Linked DNA regions of Homo sapiens: regions 2 and 3 are each linked to region 1. Evidence: promoter capture Hi-C in 16 types of primary human blood cells and fetal thymus (Javierre and others, 2016). All regions are on one chromosome and are shown on one strand. Each heading gives the region's core, a stretch centred on a gene start or on the middle of the fragment in contact. The rest is flanking DNA. Distances are from core to core; before and after follow the strand shown.

Region 1 (4,112 bases), core at 620-3,119:
GAGGCTATCATCTTTAGCAATCTAATGCAGGAACACAAAATCAAATACCGCATGTTCTCTTTTATAAGAGGAAGCTAAATGAGAAGAACTTAGGAACACAAAGAAGGAAACAACAGACCCTGGGGTCTACCTGAAGCGGGAGGGTGAGAGGAGCAGAAAAGGTAACTATTGGGTATTGAGCGTATTACCTGGGTGATGTAATACTATGTACAACAAACTCCTGTGACTCATATTTATCTGTGTGACAAACCTTCACACGTACCCCCAAACCTAAAATAAAAATTAAAAAAATAAAAATAGATACACACAAAGACACATAGGACATTACTACAGTTTTCAGCAGTTTACAACAAAACAAAACAAAAGATGACCCATTTATAAGAGACTGGACAAATAAGTTATTCTATGTCCATAAAGTGGAACATTATACACCCTTTGAAAAATGAATTTGTTCTATACTAGGTGCTTTGAAAGGACCTCCACTAAGTATTGTTGGGTGAGAAATCAAGGTGCAAAGAAAAACACAGAATATCTCATTTTTGCCAAAGGTAACAAGGGGTGCAGTAGAGTGTATACCAAGCTGTGTAGCATGCAATTGTTCTATGTTAGTTTTGTCTCCCCTGCTACACTTTAAGTTTCTTACAGGCTGGGTCCATGTCTTACACTTCCTTTGAAACTTCTCCCTGTAACTCAATCCTTCTTGAGCCTCAAATATATCACAGATTTACTGCATTGTTCATTTAAAAAAAAAGGATCTTGTATTTCCCTTGAGCCAATGTCCCAAGTAGCTGACCAGCACCCTCTGAAGACCCAGGGGTCTTCCTGCAGTGCAGACCCACTGACGAAGACAGGGCTGCCCTGGTCTTGCCACCCCAGGCCAGTGGGGCACACAGCCAACAATTTCCCTTACACGAAGACCCCAGAGATATGCTAGGAGGCAGCCTGCAAGCTCACTTTCCCAACTTTATTTTCCAAATGTTTATAGAAAGCATGATGGAATTGGATAAACCTAGGTTTGAATATGTTCTCTGAAACTGAGTTAAAAATACCACAAAGTGTTTTGTGATAATTAAGTTACAAAGTATCTAAATAAATGATGGCATATTTCCTACAGTAAAATCCTATACAACAACTAAAAGAAATTAGCTGTATGAGTTTTGTATACACCTGCATCAACATAGATCAATTCAAAATGGATGGGTGGAAAACATGGGTTGCAAAAGGACACACTACATAACACGCAAAAAACACTACATGTTATTTATGAATGCACAGATATGTAGTAAAAGTTAAAAAGCTGAAGGGAAGAACATACACCACCTCAACAACATAACGGAAGGGATGGGGGCATGATGGGCAGGAGGGGGGTCTTACCAGTATATTTGTAAGGTTTGATTTCTTCATGAAAAGACTTTATGACATATATGGCAAAATGTTAACATCTTAAACCAAATGGTACATTGAGTACATTACCATTTGAAATAATTTTGATATGTTTAAAATATTAGTTTTTGAAAAATAACCATAAAAATCAACAGTATACATTACCCTTATGGGCCTCTTGGTTTTCTTAGAGAAACCAATTTCAGGGTTCTAGATACTGAGGGATACATGTGGAAGAAGGAACTACTGAACCAGACACTGACCTCTTACTGTGAGTCATCTCACTGAATCCCAGCAATTCTGGCTGGTGATGTCACAATGACTCACATCTTCACGTCCTTGTATCACGACATCAGTGTTGAACAAATGATTTTTTTCACAGCCCACTAAAACCAAACACCAGGAATGGTAGACTGTTATGGATTACCCCCAAAATAACCAGAAGCCAACAAGTATTTCAATTCCAAAGACATCCAGCCTAGAATCCTACTAGAGATCAGAACAGGCAAGAAATTCTAAATTAATGTCAAATTTCAAAACAGTTCACCATGAAGTTATATGAGGAGTAAAAAGATAACATTCCCAGAGACCCAAAAGTTTCTTATGGCTTGTTCTTTACTGATCATTGATGTAGGTACATAATGAGAGATCTCCATCAGTGAGCTTGGCACCAGCCACAGGTGGCCCACTGCCACCAGAGCTGGGCACAGGCCCACTTCCAGCTGCTACTCATGATGGAGCAAAAACCCTCACTTCTAGCCATCACCCCTCCAGATCTGGTACAGAGCCCGGAAAAGGTGGGTGTGGTGCTTGGAAAGTTGGTTCGTGTGTGTGTGTGTGTGTGTGTGTGTGTGTGTGTGTGTGTTGGGGGCAGGTAGTGATCCAAATGTAATGGCAGCATGGTCTCTCCAAGGAAGCCTTAGGTGTGAGTGAAGCCTCAGTGAACACACACACGTGTCAGCAATGGACCAGCTGCTGCCAAATCACACAACTACGCAACACGTTGCTCAGAAATGCCAATGGTTAGTGTACGCCCCACTGATAATGTTCCTGCATCTTCTTTACTTTCATACAAAACTCATCAAGATGTAAATCTCCACTTAGGCAAGAGTTGCTTTTTGCAAAAAGCTATTATTGCCAGATAGGACCTGGATGGTCAGGTCATGAATGAATGACCTCATCAGGTAAGAGCTAGTTATTTTCAGAATGCCAAAAAATAGTGGATGGGACCCAATTTGTTTTGCTTTGTTTCTAAGCCAACCTAGAGTAATTTGACAGGTGTATCCTAATCCTTACAATATTAACCCATATACTTTCTACTTTCTCTTTGATAAAAATTCTGGTGTTTTTGTCATCATCTGCTAATATACATATTTTAGGATATTGGTTTTAGGATCCTAAATATGTATATTTACAGGTGACTAGCAGAGTGCAAACATTACTATGACAATGGAGCAGAGGCCCGGGGCGGCACCGAGCCTTGGTAAGAGCCGACAGAAATGGCAGGTCACAGGCCGTCACTGAGGAGAACTGCAATGCGGCAACACTTATATGACACTTAATTTGGGTCATGTACTAGTGTGGATGCTTTATTTATTCATTTAACTTTCACCACATTTAACTTCACCAACTCTATATGCTGTAAGGATTTTTATTATCTCCCTTATAAACAATCTGAGGCACAGAGAAGTTACATAACTTGCCCAAGGTCACACAGAAATAACTGGTAGAACCAGGATTAAAATGAAGATAATCTGGCTCAGAAGTCCCTTACTTTTAACCTTGTACCATACTGCCTCTTAAGAGTAGAGATATAAAATGTAGACCGGAGCGGCCGGGCGCAGTGGCTCACACCTGTAATCCCAGCACTTTACTTTCGGAGGCCAAGGTGGACGAATCACAAAGTCACGAGATCGAGACCATCCTGGCTAACATGGTGAAACCCTGTCTCTACTAAAAATACAAAAAAATTAGCCGGCCGTGGTAGCGGGCACCTGTAGTCCCAGCTACTCAGGAGGCTGAGGCAGGAGAATGGCGTGAACCCAGGAGGCGGAGTTTGCAGTGAGCCAAGATCATGCCACCGCACTCCAGCCTGGGCGACGGAGCGAGACTCCGTCTCAGAAAAATGTAGACCAGGGTGAAAAATCTACTATTAGTTCGTTCTCCAGATTTCCTTAAATTATTCATTTTAAATCAGGTCTAGCTTGTGAACTGGCTTGAACCCCAAGGAAATTTTTAAATGATCAAGAAAACTTGGTCAGAAAAAGTGAGACAATGCAAACCAGGTAATTGTTTGAATAAAGTAGAGAGATGTTGTGTGCAAGCAGAAGAGAAGGCAACTTATTATAGCACCGAGGTCAGGGAGGCTGCTGACCTTCAGGAGCCCAGTCCAGGAAAGGAAAGATGGTATAGAAAGCCCATAGCAACCAGTAGTGGAGACCAAGAAGGCAGAGAGTTTGACTGATGTTTACTTGCAGACACTATGGGAATGGGTAGGAAGCCAGTCAAATGCTGCATTAGGTTCAGCATGAAATCTGGAAGAGGAAGAGTTGCATCAACAGGAGGGAAAGGCTATAGAATGTGGGTGAAACAATTAGCAAGATAGCTCATAGATAAATCTGAAAAGATTGTATATACTTAGGGCAGAAAGCACATATCACAGTGGAAAAGTACTCTGAATTTACTACTAATACATGAACAAGTCTATTTGTAAATGTTATCACCCCCAA
Region 2 (4,108 bases), core at 28-2,527, 1.2 Mb before region 1:
AGCATCCACATACAAAGAAGGTATTTCGTATAAAGTCATTTATAAAAAACAGACACTCTATAAGGCAGTGATAGGCTCAGTTCAGCTCAGCGAACAAGGATGGAGCTATGGCTTGGTCACAGGCACAGAGCTGGTGCTAGGTGCAGAGACTCAGGGATGTATAGGCAAAGAGGTCTCACTGCCCACTGATGTGTCTGGAGAGGTGGGTGGGTGAAGGGACTTTCCATTTGTCCTCCCAATTTCCTCTCCGAAGCCTGTCCCTTCCCTGGGGTCCACTACTTCTCTGACCTTTCCTGAGAAACAGACTAATAAATGTGGCTACTTACATTTTACATTACATTCTAGGAGCAAATCCAGGGGGCCAGGAGCCCTGCACTCGGCTGGCTGCTTAGTCCCTGGCCCAGACCCCAGGGCCTGACAGGCATCAGAGGGGCCCCTGGGTCTGCTGCTCTGAGCTCAAAACACCCAATACTCTTTGGTGGGTGGGAAATTAAGGGCGGGGATAGCTCCGTGTGCATCCTAGGTCTTTTCCTCTCCCAAGAGAATTCTACTCTGCCACAAAGGAACTCAGCCTCTGCGCCCTGTGGCTTCTGCTGACGGGTGGTGTGTGCTCTGGATGGGGGGTAGGGTTCCTGGCTAGGAGTGGCAGTGGCGCCTGCTCTGGAGTGTCCCTAAATGTCAGCATGCAACATTACCAGGCAGGCCCTCCCACTTCAGTCCTCAGGCCACTCATAGGACCTCCTGTCCCCATGTAGAGAGGCTGACACCAGGTTGGAGCCAGCACTGAAAGGATCCCCGAACTCCTGCTTCTACAAGGCAGCATCCGCAGGTGAGCGGCCAGGCACCTACAAGACACGCACCCTTCAAGCCTGGCTTCCCAAAGCCCCGCCGGGCCAGGCTGGCTGGCACAGCAGACAGTCATGCAGCAGGGTCCCCAGCGACCCCCCATCCCTGAGAGAACACACGGAGTCCCCCGCCCGCCAGCTGCTCCGGAGGCGGCTCCAGGGTAGACTCAACAAGTTCCCGGGCCATGCAGCGCCGCCTGCAGCCCAGAAACCCGGAGGACGCGCTGTGGCGGAGCCCCGCGCGCAGGCGGCAGCCGGCGGCAGCCGGCGGCAGCTCCTTCCACCTCCTCCTCCTCTTCCTCCTCCTCCTCCAGCTCTGGCGGCGGCGGGAGGGGGCTCCTCCACTCCCTCCCTATCCCCCACCCCACGCACGCGGCCCGGCCCGGCCCGGCCCCGCGCCGCCCCCGCCCCACCTCCGCCCCGCGGGGCCCGGGGCTCCGCCCGCCTCGGTGCCAGCCGGGCGCACAGGCGGCAGGCGCGCGGCTTGGGGCGCCCTCGCCTCTGGCCGCCCGGCTCCGCGGAGTAGCTGGGACCTGGAGCAGCGGAAAGGACTTCCCTCCTGCTCCCTCCTCTGCCCCGCCCCCGCCTCCTGGCCCTGGCTCTGAGATCTCGCCGAAGACAATTGCAGTAAATGAGGACATCGGAGGAGCGCGAAGCCGGGTGGCTGTGGCTGGCTCCGCCGCGTCGCGAGCAAGCGAGCGCGCGGGCGTCCCCGGAGCTGGCCCAGCCGCTGCCTCCCCGCGCGCGTCGCTAAGCGGGGCCGGAGGGACGCGAGCGACGCGAGCTGCGGCGCGGGGGCCGGCCGGGCCAGCAGGGCCGGGCCGGCAGCGGTGGAGGGGGCGGGCAGCAGGCGCGCAGCGGGCCAAGTCCCCGGAGCCGAGGCTTCCTCCGCGTGAGCGCGGCGAGTCTGGCCGCGGATGCCCTGTCCGGAGTGCTCCGTGCCGCCCCAGGCTTGCCAGGGTCCGCAGCGAGACATGCCCGAGCCAGGCGCTGCATCGACCTCGACTTATCTGTAAGCAGCGGAAGGTAAGCGGAGCCCCGCGTGCCCTCCTCCCGCGCCCCCGCGCCCGTCGTACTTGGCCGCGGGCAGAGCACCGCTGGGACGGGCGCCGACCCCGATTCGGGCGCACACACTCGGCCCCAAACCGGCTTGGCCGGAAACTCGGCGGCTCCCGGGGCCGGGACACCCCGGTGCAGCCGGGAGCGGACCCGGTGCGGTCGCAGGTGGGGGGCAAGGTTATGCAACTGCATCTGGCGCGACCGGGTCGCTGAGGGGCGTCTGGCAACTTTGGCGACGTCAGGGAGGAGCGGGGCTGCGCCTCTGCGATGTGGGTTCCAGACAGACGCCACAGCTTCGTGAGCGCCCGACAGCCCTAGCCAGGCAAAACTGGGAGATCTGGGGGCGGCCGTCTCCCCGGAAGGTTTCGAGGCTTTTAAGTATTTTCCAAACTAAAGCGCCCTGGAAAGTACAAGTACGGCTGATTAACTTCGGGGGGGGGATGAGTTGGAACAGAGGGGCCCTGACGCCGGCCGTTGAGGAGAGGCGCGAGCAGCAGTGAAGGCAGATGCCCACGTGAAATGCTCGTCTCCTCCACTCGCTGGGGTTGGCACCTTCCCGGGGCTGCGGGTTGGGGTCGGCGCCGCGGGGCTTCCCGGTGCCTGGCAGCCCGAGTCAGACCGGGACAGGCGTGGGAAACCAACCAACGCTGCAGACCTAAGAGACTGCGAGCTGGCGGGCGAGGGCAGGAGGGAGGAGGGAGCCCGCGGGCAGCCCGGGGTCGGGGCAGCTCCTGGAGCCCAAAGTCAAGAGCGAGAGTCTGCATCTTGCTGGTTCATGCTCAGGGCTCCAGGCTGATGTCCCCACTGCTTGGATAAAGAGCCGCTCCCTGTGACCTCAGCATTCTACTACCCAAAAATATGCCACAGGGAGAGGGAGCCAGTGATAAAGAGATGCCAGGAGTGGGGGAGGAGAGGTGCCTCTGGAGTAAATAGGAGAGAAAATGGGTGCGTTTTGCTTATCTACAGCCCAGGGCTCCCGCCCGGACCCCTCTCCTGCTGTTGGTCTGTGCTGGGGAGCTGCACGCGCTCTGGGCCCCTGCGCCAGAAGCAGCGGTGAAGCGGTTTACTTTGACCTTGTCTGCTTAGGCGCTGAAATTCTGCGGAAGCATCCCGAGGTGAAACTGCAAGAGTGGGAATGAACTTTGGGGGAGCCCTGCCTTGGCTGGGAAGCCAAACGATCATTTCAGAAGACTACAGCTCAGGATAGCACAGGGTAGACGTCTGTGCACTTGAACGCTCCCCCCTCAACGAGGACTTGCTAGAGGGTTACCTTTCCATGCCTTATCTCAGTGGGGGGACTGTCAGAGTGACTGCGCTGGCTGGGTACTTGATGAAAAAATACCACTCACAAGACCCGGGCCATTCCCAGAGTAGTACATACATGAAAATGATATAACCCTTATTAAGCTTACGCTACAGCAAGTTACCGTCATTTCACTATGCAGAGGCGGAAAGTGCTGGTTTTTACTATTCCCCCACACTGTACTATTTCTTACATTCATATCCTGTTGAATGTTACTTTTGAAAGTTCATATTTATCTTTGCAATTTTTTTGCAAGAATGATTAGCAAACATGCACAAGGAGCTCAAAGAAAAAATGGAAGTCCTGCCATCTGCATGCCTCACCAGATATTAATCATTTACTATCCATGTTTACTACTTACATTAGATGGCACTGCTCCTCACGATGGTTTTATTAGAGGCGCATTTGGTTAAGGAAAAGAAAAAGTCTAGCACAGCTATCACTAATTGCATGATTTTGCATAAATTACATTAGCCATGGAGAGTTTTGTTTTCTTCACTAAATTCATCATTTTGTTTAAAAGACTAAACAATTCAGTTTAATTTCTTTAGCTAAATGAAAGACTTTTCCTTAAAGACAAGATGTCCTTGAAAAGCTACATATGTCTTTAAACTTATTACAGTTGCCACGACTTTGTATTTTATCATTGTGATTAAGACTTTGAGCTTTCATGTAAGTCAGGCCCTTTATCCTATTAAGAAACAGAATTACTGGTTAAGAAATAGGCTAACAAGGCAAAAGCTGGGAAGCTCCATGTCTGCACAATGAGATTTCTGCAAGCTCTATGGGAGGCTGGGTACTCTATTACTCTGTTTACTTCGGGGGCTTCTCTGTTTTGCCACAGTTGTTTTCCCCTGTGGCAGGAAAGGGAATTTTTGTGTTTTGTTTCTCCCTCTGTAGG
Region 3 (4,251 bases), core at 673-3,172, 1.6 Mb before region 1:
GGTCAGAGAGTTTCAGAAATATTGGTCATGAGAAAACCAATCAAACACTCTTAGTCGGACATCCACTATGTATTTTTCCGTGTGCTAACAGAGGAAATCTAAACATGATAGAGAGAACGCCTTCTATTTAAAATCCCCAGCAGGGAAGGGCCTCTGAGTCATTGCAGGAAGGGAAGCAAGCCAGTTCTTTCCAGAAATACTCATGATGCCACCTTTATACTGCAAAAGGAATGTATCAGTTCTGGTTATGAGATTCCTGAAACATCCCTAAAAAGACACTGATGCACTTTGCTGATCGTCGAAGGCAGCCCTTGCCAGGGCAGACTCATTAACATAATAAGATTGTATATTTGCCTGGTTAATGGACTCAGTGAAGTTCGCAACAAATATTATAAAAGCCTATGTGTCGTCTGCCTGCATAATCATTCACCCTAAGCAATCAAATTGGCATGAATAGCATCCACACTCTTACTACGGAACTAGGTAATAACAAGAACAAAACTGTCACGTGCAAAAATAGAAATAAGGAAAATGCAGTGAAAGGAGAAACATTTCATTTATGGACAAGGAAGTCTCATAAGTATTTTAGAACAAAGTACATTCTTAATTTCTTTTAAAAAAGCTACAGAGAAGAGCCTGTTATTCAACAGAAATGTCATGAGTAAACCTTTGGGGAAAGAACAGAAAGTAATTAGGAAGACACTTGAGAAAATATACCAGTATATGGATTGTGACTCATCAGCTTGATCAATGTGGTGTCTTATAGAATTGATGACTAAATTAGTGTTGAATGCTCATAGGAGGAAACCAAAAAAAAGAAGCTATATTAAATAAACAAGAAATAGAAAAATGACAGATGCAAAGATTAGTGAAAAGGCCAATAATATAAATAACTAGATCATTATGTTCAGACATATATTTATCACTTAGGATTTATGCGACATCCCTTTATCCTAAAAGTAGTTTCATAAATCACATTGATTTCAGTCATTATAATGTGACAGGTTACGTTTTAGTGAAAAAAAGTTCAAGTTCAAAATGCCGTCAATGACAAAAGATATTTTAAAATTATAAACAAAATATTGACATAAAGGCAACTGAAATATTATGTAGAAATAATATTAAATATTCCAAAGAAAGATATTTATTTTCTGAATGTCTTGAACAGTTCAATGAACGTAGGAGTTCAATCAATATTCTCTAATAAATATATGAATTAATATTTTATGTGATATTTTATTTAGAGCTAACGTTTTATCTATATTCTGCATCTGAAAAAATTAAACTGTTTTTGAAAAATGACCACTTTATTTTTAATATAGTTTCCATGGTTAAGTGTTCACTTTGATTATGAATGAATGCATGTGGAATAAATAAATTGCCATTGGCAAAAAAATTACTTTAGATTGAGATGAATATTTCCCTTTGCAGGAGCCAACCCTAAATAATTCAAAACAAATTTGAATATAGTCCAGTGTTACTTGTCACACTAATATTTTCTTTTACTAATGTCATCAATCTGCTGACTTTTTCCCATTGAGAACTCTAATAATAAAGGAAATTACTTTTCTGTCACATATTCCTTGAAAGTATTTGGAATTTACATAATTTACCATTCTAGTCATCTATTTAAATATCCACAACGGAGGCAAATCCTTACCTTAGAAGATGGAACTGGATAACACCAAAACACATGCATTGTGGACAGCGACAGAACTAGGATGAGATTGAGTTTTACTGAGCTGCAAAGTAGAAAAAAAGTACAATCAAGATTTAGTCTCAAGTAGGCAAGAATAAGTAAAACAGCATATGAAAATGCAACATTTTTCTTTGCAGAAAAACGTAGCCTTTTACCTAATCATTTTGGACTTCCCAAAATCTGTAAAGATAGGTGGTTTTATTGCCAAATTTCTCACACTTACTCTCAGACCCTCATTGGGTGGCCCTTTTATACCAGAAAAGTTCGGGAGTAAAAATGTCATCTCATCCCTCCTATATGACTAATTGTTCTGTCTGTGGCCTTTTGTTCTTGTTAAGAAGAAAAGGACATAACATATGGGCATTGTCATTGAGCTGCCAATGATCGACTTCATTTAAAGTTTGCCATTAAGAATGTCCTTCAAAACCATTGTCTTCGAGACTGAATCATTGTGGCATGGGTGGCCAGAGGTCTCAAAAGGAAACAAAAGGTTTTTTTAGCTTAGAATTTAAACCTTTAAGAAGGATGACATTCTTTCCTTGAATGTCCCAGACATTATGTTTCAGAAACTAACACAAAAGAAATACTTACAGGAATAAAGAACATCTACCCAGCTGGGCACGGTGGCTCACACCTGTAATCCTAGCACTTTGGGAGGCCGAGGCAGGTGGATCACCTGAGGTCAGGAGTTTGAGACCAGCCTGGCCAACATGGTGAAACCCTATCTCCACTAAACATACAAAAATTAGCCAGGCGTGGTAGTGCACACCTGTAATCCAGCTACTTGGGAGGCTGAGGCAGGAGGCAGGAGAATCGCTGGAACCCGGGAGGCAGAGGTGGCAGTGAGCCGAGATTGCCCCACTGCACTCCAGCCTGGGTGACAGAGCCAGACTCTGACTCAAAACAAAACAAAACAAAACAAAAACAAACAAAAAAACACATTTACCCAAACAACTCATGCAGATTATTTACATTTTCTACCTTAGATTTCTTTCCTTTAGGACTTCAGCAGTTAAAGCAGGAAAATAAATGTCACACCTTTTCCGCTAGTCATCGAAATAAAGGAAGGACACTGTGTATCCCCTGTCCATGCCATGTACTCCCAAAAGTCCCACGGGCTCCCAAAGTCCCAGGCCCACAGTTCTGGGAGAGCCTGCTTTTCATGGCTTCCTTTTTCTCCCCAGGGTATGGAATTTCTTCAGGCAGCCTTTGCTGTCCTTGCACTTCAATGGGCATCTGCATTAATAAATGGATTCAGGAGCTCTAAGTATGAACAGATGTTGCTGAGGCTTACAATGGAGAAAAACACCAAGGGAGGTGCTTTCTGCTTGGATAACTAGTGTTTCTGAGATGATGCCAACAGTTTTTGAATACAAAGCAACCAAGGATAATCCGTGCCTCCTCGAGATCAGCACCTTTTGGAGGACAAAGCTGCCCTGTGTCTGGGACAGTTGCTGCCAATTTGTTGGCACTGCATTTCTTTCTTTGGGGAACTGCCATTTGCATGATTTTTATGTAGCTGTCAATCATACAGTCACAGTTTGCCATCACAAGGAAAAGCAGATGACCTGGACTCTCAAGAGAACCAAGCTCACAAGATTAGAGCCAAGTTGAGGGGCTGAGGAAGTGATCCAAACTACTTTGATCAGTGTTCTTATGGGACATAGTGTGGATATTAGGAGACAAAGGGCCTAAGAGCACAAAGGGACTGAACACACATATTTACTTTTGGTTGTTTTAGCTAAAACACACACACACACACACACACACACACACGCAGGAACCCAAAAAGAATGCAGAAGGATTTTATTAAGTGATAAACAATTGATCAAGTGGATCTGAGAAAGGTGCTTACTGAAATACCCCCAAAAGACTCAAGTTATTTTTGCATGTAGTGAAGATGGTACCAAAATGGAGGGTTAAGTGGAAATTTGTTTAAGAATCAACTCAATCAATAGCACATCCTCTCCCAACTTCCCATTGCCAGACACTGTCTACTCTCTAGAATTGGCAGGAGATGACAGGTTTATTATTTTTATTTTTTATTTTTGAGACAGGATCTCCCTCTGTTGCCCAGGCTGAAGTGCAGTGGCATGATGATGGCCCACTGCAGCCTTAACCTCCTAGGTTCAAGTGATTTTCCCGCCTCAGCCTCCAAGTAGCTAGGACCATGCGCCATCATACTCAGCTAATTTTTTAATTTTTTTGTAGAGACAGAGTCTCACTGTGTTGTCCAGGCTGGTCTCGAACTCAAACTCCTGGACTCAAGCGACGATCCTCCTGCGTTGGCCTACCGAAGAGTTGGGGTTACAGGTGTGAGCCACTGCATCTAGTCAGAAAGGTTTATTCTAAGGAGAAGGTAAAGAGAAGGAATCAGGTATAGTGAAATGAAAGAGTATCTTTCTAAAAACAAAGATTGAATAAGGATTACACTCAATGCCAAGACTCATGGATCTCTTCCTTGACACAACTCTCAGCACACTGCCAGACAGGTCTTAAACTTCAAGACAAGTCAATGGAAGATCCTCCTATGAGAGGCCCAAGAGGAAAAA

The links. Contacts are between HindIII fragments. The CHiCAGO score rates a contact against its expected background, and 5 or more counts as called.
Region 2: the fragment with the promoter of INSYN2A here is called in contact with the fragment with the promoter of FANK1-AS1 in region 1 in 1 of 17 cell types (M2 macrophages); the score reaches 7.3 in M2 macrophages.
Region 3: the fragment with the promoter of NPS here is called in contact with the fragment with the promoter of FANK1-AS1 in region 1 in 6 of 17 cell types (total B cells, non-activated CD4 T cells, total CD4 T cells and 3 more); the score reaches 12.6 in total B cells.

The regions. Positions count from the first base shown.
Region 1 is chr10:125,971,030-125,975,141 of GRCh38, reverse strand. It overlaps FANK1-AS1 (FANK1 antisense RNA 1), which reads left to right and starts at 1,869. Exons shown (of 4, transcript NR_102707.1): 1 at 1,869-1,888; 2 at 2,018-2,180; 3 at 2,297-2,405; 4 at 2,801-2,954. All of the region lies in intron 1 of FANK1 (fibronectin type III and ankyrin repeat domains 1), which reads right to left. The HindIII fragment of the contact is 7,061 bases long and covers 1-4,112 here.
Region 2 is chr10:127,193,760-127,197,867 of GRCh38, reverse strand. INSYN2A (inhibitory synaptic factor 2A) reads left to right here and starts at 1,277. Exons shown (of 6, transcript NM_001039762.3): 1 at 1,277-1,871. The region is part of intron 27 of DOCK1 (dedicator of cytokinesis 1); the gene reads right to left. The HindIII fragment of the contact is 7,592 bases long and covers 1-3,313 here.
Region 3 is chr10:127,546,980-127,551,230 of GRCh38, reverse strand. It overlaps NPS (neuropeptide S), which reads right to left and starts at 1,922. Exons shown (of 3, transcript NM_001030013.2): 1 at 1,855-1,922; 2 at 1,661-1,742. The coding sequence starts at 1,862. The HindIII fragment of the contact is 10,264 bases long and covers 1-4,251 here.